Regions from separate parts of the Homo sapiens genome. Here region 1 is linked to region 2. Evidence: promoter capture Hi-C in human tissues and cell types (Jung and others, 2019). All regions are on one chromosome and are shown on one strand. The core of a region is centred on a gene start or on the middle of the fragment in contact, and the rest is flanking DNA. Distances in the headings are between cores, read along the strand shown.

Evidence for each region. Contacts are between HindIII fragments. The study calls those that stand out against the background at their distance.
Region 1: a contact is called between a fragment that was not itself captured here and the fragment with the promoter of PSMC1 in region 2, in 1 of the 25 tissues and cell types used here (pancreas).

The regions. Positions count from the first base shown.
Region 1 is chr14:90,312,778-90,316,762 of GRCh38, forward strand. NRDE2 (NRDE-2, necessary for RNA interference, domain containing) reads right to left here. Exons shown (of 14, transcript NM_017970.4): 3 at 3,801-3,985. Among named protein-coding and RNA genes, the nearest start is that of NRDE2, 17 kb to the right of the region's middle. The HindIII fragment of the contact is 3,189 bases long and covers 682-3,870 here.
Region 2 is chr14:90,254,074-90,257,956 of GRCh38, forward strand. It overlaps PSMC1 (proteasome 26S subunit, ATPase 1), which reads left to right and starts at 2,480. Exons shown (of 11, transcript NM_002802.3): 1 at 2,480-2,527. The coding sequence starts at 2,525. RefSeq lists enhancers at 2,126-2,655, 2,531-2,770, 2,656-3,183. The HindIII fragment of the contact is 25,675 bases long and covers 1-3,883 here.

The DNA of each region.
Region 1 (3,985 bases), core at 1,026-3,525, 58 kb after region 2:
AAAAGAAGTCTTCCTATCTCAAAAATTAACCTGAAGAATATAGGTATACAGCAGTTCTTTTAAAATATTTCATTTAGATTACTGTAACCTGAATTTCAAATATATTTATAAACAAGGTCTTTTCCTAAAAAGTATTCCTGCTCTGAGGCACCTTAGAGGGCTAGGCAGAGGGAACTCCCACACCTCCAAAGGTGACAACACCAATAATCAAGTGTGCTGCCCTAACTTCGCCTAACTTACTTGAAAGTGCCTAGATACTTATTCCAACTCAAAACTTCTCTAAAAAGCCATGGTTCTGAACTGCTCAGCCTCCAACATCACTTAGGCTTGGTCTCAGCCTCATTTTTTTTTTTTTTTTTTTTTTTTTGAGACGGAGTCTCGCTCTGTCACCCAGGCTGGAGTGCAGTGGCGCCATCTCCGCTCACTGCAAGCTCCGCCTCCCGGATTCACGCCATTCTCCTGCCTCAGCCTCCTGAGTAGCTGGGACTACAGGTGCCCACCACCACACCTGGCTAATTTTTTGTATTTTTGGTAGACATGGGGTTTCACCATGTTAGCCAGGGTGGTCTCGATCTCCTGACCTCATGATCCACCCGCCTCGGCCTGCCAAAGTGCTGGGATTACAGGTGTGAGCCACCGTGCCCGGCTCAGCCTCATTTTTATGGTCTGGACTCTGTATTCGCTGTTTTGCTTATACATCTGGACCTCGTAAATAAAGGGCAGAATCACGAGGCTCCCCTGAAGACAAGACCCTAATGTATCTCTCTGAACCAATGTGTAGGCTGGCAGACTTTCAGCTCAGATCCAAAAGGAACCACTCCCGGGGCGTTAAGTGAGAGGGAGGGAAGGTTTCTCTGGCATCTAACATCTTCTTCCTCTAAAGAAAATCAGTTCATAATGCTGCTGACACAAGAAGGTGACAAAGTAGTCAAAACAGCCATTAACTGTTGTTCCATCTCTGCTTTTCAGCTCTGCCCAGGTACAAATAAAGATTTTGGAGGCTTCTTAATTATTCTTGGCAGGGAATATAAGGGAATGGCATTTCAGGAACACTAAGTAGCTATTCAATAAATAGTTGTTGAATGATGAGCCTCAGGTTAATGTATGGAGATTTTAACACATTTCCCAACTGCAGAGGGCTTCCTGTCTACAAAAACCATAACGGGCAATGAAAAGATGGAGAGCCTACTGCAAACTGATTGATGCATTTGAGAAATAAATGGAAAGCCAACTGGGAGAAAAAAAGGAGAAGCCAGCTGCAGACCGCCCCTGAGGAGTCAACAGGCCCTTTCCTCTCCCCTCGGCGGTACTGAGCTAAGGAAGCAGGATATGGTAGTCTGGGCTGTGTGCAAGGAAGGAGCTGCCTCCACCTGAAGGTGAGGGAAAGCTCATCCCAGAAACTCAAGGTCAATTAGTAGCTGTGGCCTCTGGGGAAGTCATTTGTCATCACCCTGAAACAGAGTCTCATAGGGTCTGCTACCCTCACGAACCCACTTTCCTGACATCACAGAAAGACTCTCACAATTCACTAATATTGTAGTCCTTGTCTATGTGGAAATAAATAATTCTTCCAGGTCACCTTCTTGGGAAGAGAATACATAAGTTAATAACAAGACAGTAAAAGAGAAGGACAAGAACAATCTTAATAAGGATATTCTATAAAATATCAATAAACTTAAAAATGCTATCTGGATCATAAAACTATCAAGAGGCTGTAAAGATTCCCTGACATGATTAAGCATAGGCTGAAATTAACTATCCTTCAAGTTCTAAAGATAGTTCCTGTGTGGTTTCAGGAAATCCTTTAAAACTCATTTTCCCCAGCTATAAAAAAGGACAAGTAGCTAGAAGTTGAGTTTTGGGAAGACGTAACAATTAAAGTAGCTTGCTTTAAAGACACAGTAAAAGGTAAGGACACCAATAACATATTCATTCATTCATGTAACAAAAACAAATTCAGTGCTTACTCTGTAATGGGCCCTGTGCACCACGTGCTGTGGGAATATGGTGGTAAGCAAGACAGGCCTGATTCCTACCCTCAAAAATTCAGTCAAATTCAGAACCTTTTTGCCGGACTGCTTTATTTTTTCCTCTAAAGAGCAAGCTTGGGGGCTGGGTGCGGTGGCTCATGGCTGTAATCCCAGCACTTTGGGAGGCAGAGGCGGGTGGATTACCTGAGGTCAGGAGATCGGAGATCGAGACCAGCCTGGCCAACATGGAAAAACCCCGTCTCTACTAAAAACACAAAAATTAGCCGGGCGTGGTGGCACATGCCTGTAATCCTAGCTACTTGGGAGGCTGAGGCAGGAGACTTGCTTGAGCCCGGGAGGCAGAGGTTGCAGTGAGCCGAGATCGTGCCACTGTACTCCAGCCTGGCCGACAGAGCAATACTCTGTCTCAAAAAAAAAAAAAAAAAAAAAAAAAAAAAGCTTGGGTTACAAAAATTAGCTGGGTGTGGTGATGCATGCCTGTAGTCCCAGCTACTTGGGAGGCTGAGGCATGAGAATCGCTTGAACCCGGGAGGCGGAGGTTGCAGTGAGGCAAGATCGTACCACTGCACTCCAGCCTGGGTGATAGAATGAGACTCTGTCTAAAAAAAGGAAACAAAAATTCCTGAAGAGTTGCAAAAACCTCAACAGCACTATTTCTTTTTTAGAGATGTTCTAGACAGGTACCTAAGTTTTCTCCCTTCTAGACCATATGAGCAAATAAAGGAGAAAGTTAAATGAGCAATAATTCAGGTAGTTTCACCATATACCACCTGTCCCACCTACACGCAAATACCCCTCTACTTAGGAAGACATTCAACTAGGCACAGAGAAAAGGCTGTATTGAGCACCTATGCTGTGGCCATTCTGTAGAATGAATTGAACAATATGCTCAAGGTAGAAAGCAGAGTAGGCCACAGTGGCTCATGCCTGTAATCCCAGCACTTTGGGAGGCTGAGGCAGGTGGATCACCTGAGGTCAGGAGTTCAAGACCTGCCTGGCCAACATGGTGAAATGCCATCTCTACTAAAAATACAAAAAATTAGCCAGGCGTGGTGGCAGACGCCTGTAATCCCAGCTACTCGGGAGGCTGAGGCAGGACAATCGCCTGAACCCAGGAGGTAAAGGTTGTGGTGAGCTGAGATCGCACCACTGCACTCCAGCGTGGGCAACTGGAGTGAAACCCCGTCTCAAAAAAAAAAAAAAAAAAAAAAGAAAGAAAGCAGAGTAAAATATGGGAGAAATAAAGCCCCCAAGGAATGGAAACACTGTAATCATGAGCTGTTTTCCACTGCCTTCGACATAGTGGTCTTAAACAAATATGAAAAAGAAAAGGAAAAGGACAAATGTAACAATTATTTAAGTGCTACGTTAATCTTAAAGTGTGTGTGATCATGTATACACACAGGAGTTGATAGGAGTGACTGAATGAAAGATATATCAAGGCAGAGAAAGAAGATGTTTCTCCTACCCAGAGTGTGGAGACCCACGGCCCTCAGAGAGGGAACCGTTATCTATGTGATAACGGCACTGACTCACAGACCCACTGTGGCACATCTGCCATCTTTTGAAAATCCCAAAGACTTTTTGTCTAAAAGAGATTCACACAATCATTACTGTGTCTAAATAACATTTCTCAAATAAAATCGTGTCCCTAATTTTTCTCCTTCTCTTTTTTAAGCTGATATAATGGTAGAGCTCTCTTCCGACTGAGTGACTAAATGGTTATTCAAATATCTAATTTGCGGCAACAATTAAGGGAGAAAAACTCAAGACTTAAAATATCATAGGTGCTTGAGAACAGCAACCTACTTCGGTTCCTCAGATTCCTTTTTACTGCCTCCAACGCCTCTGGAAGGTTTGTCCTTTTCAGAATCGGTGTCTGTCTCAGACCTGCTGCTACTCGACGGCCCATGCTTCCTCTTTGTTTTCTTATGATGCTGATGCTTCCTTTTTTTCTTTTTCTCTTTCTTCTTTTTTCTACTTGTTTGTTTGAG
Region 2 (3,883 bases), core at 1,230-3,729:
ATGGGCCTATAGAATCACAGTCTCTGGCGGATGGCACCAGAGTCTGCATTTTGTCAGCATCTGGGCTGGTTCTGATGTGCTTGAGGTTGCAGGGGGGCTGCTGAACAGGATGCACGCTCGCCTCTGGCACCTGCCCTCTGTCCACCCCGGCCCCGCCCCCTCTGTCCACCCTAGCATGAGCCCTCCGTCCACGTTTGGACACCTTCCTACCTCAGCCTCCATTCCATCTACTTTTGGCAAAAATCTCTTAAGAATCAAAAAACAAGAGTTTTATCCTCTCCGTATCCTCAGCCGGCAAGGTAGATAATTATCCCGTTATACAGATGAGAAAATGAGGATGACTTGCTGATGTCACACAGCTAGAGCAGAGCCTCCGGAGAGGAAACCTGTTGGTATCTTGATTTTAGCCCTGTGAGACCCAAGTTGAACTTCTAACCCAGAGACCTTCTAGCTTTGAGCACTACATTTATGGTCACTTTCTTTTTTTTTCTTTTTGAGATGGATTTTCCTTCTTTTCGCCCCGGCTGGAGTGCAATGGCGCAATCTCGGCTAACTGCAACCTCCGCCTCCCAGGTTCAAGCGATTGTCCCGTTTCAGCCTCCCGAGTACCTGAGATTACAGGCATCTGCCACCACTCCCAGCTAATTTTTGTATTTTCAGTAGACATGAGGTTTCACCATATTGGTCAGGTTGGTCTTGAACTCCTGAACTCAGGTGATCCACCCGCCTCGGCCTCCCAAAGTGCTGGGATTACAGGCGTGAGCCACGGCGCCCAGCCCCTGTGCATCTCTTTTGCCCTATGGCTGACTCTCAATCCTCCCCACCCGGTTGACAGTCATCTCTGCAACTCTCCCTCTTTTCCACTTGCAACTTCCAACCTCCCCAAGTGCTGAGCACTCCAAGTAGTCTTTCTAATCCTCTCCCTGCTTTCTCTTAGCTGTCCATTATGTAGATAAACTTAAATTTTCTGCTTACTTTATGTCACTTCCTACAGCCACAATAGGAAAGTCTGATGCCAACGTTGGCTACTCTCTTCATTACTGGGTTCTATTGACTCGCCTTTAACCGCTGAGCTTCCACTGGGAGTTATGTGCCTGTTTCTGACTTCTTCACTATATGGTGTCTCTAATCTCCATCCTCTGCAGCTTCTACTGCAGGGCCTCTGCCCTGGCTGTTCCCTCTACCTAGAAAGCTCTTCCACCAGATATCTGAATAGCTTACTCCTTCATGCCTTACGGGCTTTTGCTCAAGTATCATCCAATTTAAAGTTAAAATCACCCACCACTGCTGCATGCTCCTAATCCTAGGCATTTTTCCTAGGCATTAATTTTTCCTATGGCATTTACCACTATGTGGCATACTATATATTTTACTATTTACTTGTTTCTTGTAAAATGCATTAGGGAAAGGATATTTATTTTGTTTTTTAAATTTTTATTAATTTTTTTTTTTGAGACAGAGTCTCGCTCTGTCACCTAGACTGGAGTGCAGGGGCGTGATCTCACTGCAACCGTCGCCTCCCAGGTTCGAGAGATTCTCATGACTCGACCTCCCAAGCAGCTGGGATTACAGATGCCCACGATGATGCCCGACTAATTTTTGTATTTTTAGTAGAGATGGGAGTTTCACCATCTCTATCCTATGTGTGATACTGTCCTATCGTGTGATTTCATGTGTCATGTACACTAGATGCCAGATTTGTTAACAGAGGTCGATAGTGCTAAGACTTTCTATTACCGTGTTGCAGTGATGATGAAAAGGAAGAAGTATACCTGTTGTGTGTTCATAAGGGAAATATTTTTAGTGTTTCACAACTAAAATCCCTAAATCAATCTGGAGCAGAAAAAAAATCATCCATTTCTCCAGTTCAGAAAGATGCAGTATTTTGAGCACTTGTTAATGAAATTTCCAGAAACAGAAGGGATTGTTGCCATTTTTCTGATGTCCTGGAGGGTGTAACAAATGAGGAACTTTACCAATCAGCTTCAAGATGAGGAATTTAAGACATTTGGCATCATCACAAGTCACAGGTCATCAGAAAAAGACAGGTTTAGAAGACTCGTTACACACATACTCCCAGATGTGCAGGTTAAATTCCAGAAGCTGAATAATAACTGAAATATTTGTGCAAATGTATATGTCAACTTCCCAGTTCCAAATACCATTCCAGTTTTTAGAACCATAAAGTTCTTCCCAGTTATAAATTTTGCATAATTTAAATATTTTATATTTTCACGATTGTCCTAATTCTTTGACAGTAGGGGTCATTGTCTTAAGTTGTTGACAAGCGCCTCATAACGGGTATTCAAAAATTTCTTTCAAGTAAAATATTTATAAAGTTCACTTTATGCTTATAAACTGCTGCGTTGCCCTAGACCGCCCGCACAAGCCCTTGGAGCACAACTTGGTCAGCGCAGAATTTGGTTCCTATCAGCTTCCGTAGCGTCCCTAACGACTTCCGCCTCTGGCGGGCCGCAGTGGTGGAGGAACTTCCGGCAGCGGCAGCTCAAGTGGCCAAGGCAAGATGGTGAGTGACTAAGGGTTTCTTTCCGCTGGTCGTCGCGGTGCGATGGGGTCTCAGCAGCCTGAGGCGAGAGAAAGAGGCGGCTGCCCGAGGAACTGGGACAGCCCTCTTCTCCTTTTGCCGGCCTGATCTTCTCGGCGGGTGGAGGCTCCCAGAGACCGCGCTCATGTCCACCGCGGGCCGGGGCCGACCAACGGGCCTTGCCCGGGGATCCTGGGGCCGGGGCTCAGAGCAGAGAGAGGGTCTCCTGCGTGGTCTTGTGGGGCGGCAGAACGGATCAGGCCGCTGGCTTTGCTGCTCCGCCGACCAGGGCTTTGCTGATCGGCGCTGGGAGTTTCGGGGGCGCCTCCTCGAGTCACCGGGAAAAATGCTTTTTGAGTCGGGCAGGTGAAGGGTGCTGGAGAAGAGGGTGGGATTCATTCCACCTGAGGAGTTGAGCGCGGAGTCGTGGAAGGCCTTTCGGAGCTGGGGGCATTTGAAGGAGGCCTTAAAGACGTTGTTATGACAGGCGGAGCTAAGACGGAAAGGGCCCGTGGTGCAGTAGTAATAATAAAAACAGCTAGCATTTATTCATCAATTCACTAAACAAGTATTTACTGAGCACTTGGTGTTTTGTTGTTGTTGTTAAACTTTTGGCTAGCTTCTGTTGTAGACACTGAGGATTGATTGAAGTCCCTGCCTTCATAGTGCGTACATTCTAGAGCAGAAGGCAGACAATCATCAGAAATATGTAATATGATGTCAGGGGTGGGGTGGTCATTGTTGTATGGTTATTGTATAGAAAGGGATAGCTTGGAGGAGTGGCTGCTTTTTATAGAGTCAGCGAAGGTAGCTCTGAGGAGGTGAAATTTGAGCGGACCGAAATTGAGGGAGTAACCCCTGCAGATGTCTGAGGGAAATGTGGTCAAGGCAGAAGATACAGCAAGTGCAAAGGACCTGAGATGGGAATGTTTAACCTGTATCATGAACGGCAAGAAGGCCAGATCTCATAGAGGTCTTTTTTATTTTAATTTTAATTTTTATTTTTTTGAGACGGAGTCTTGGTCTGTCGTCCAGGCTGGAGTGCAGTGGCGCGATCTCCGCCTCCCGGGTTCAAGCGATTCTCCTGCCTTAGCCTTCCAAGTAGCTGCGACTATAGGCGCCCGCCACTACGCCCGGCTAATTTTTGTATTTTTGTAGAGACGGCGTTTCACTCTGTTGGCCAGGCTGGTCCTGAACTCCTGACCTTATGATCCGCCCGCCTCGGCCTCCCAAAGTGTTGGGATTACAGGCGTGAGCCACCGCGCCCGGCCTCATAGAGGTCTTATACGGATTTCTGGGTAGTATTCTAAGCATGTACCAAGTACTTTTCCAGCATTT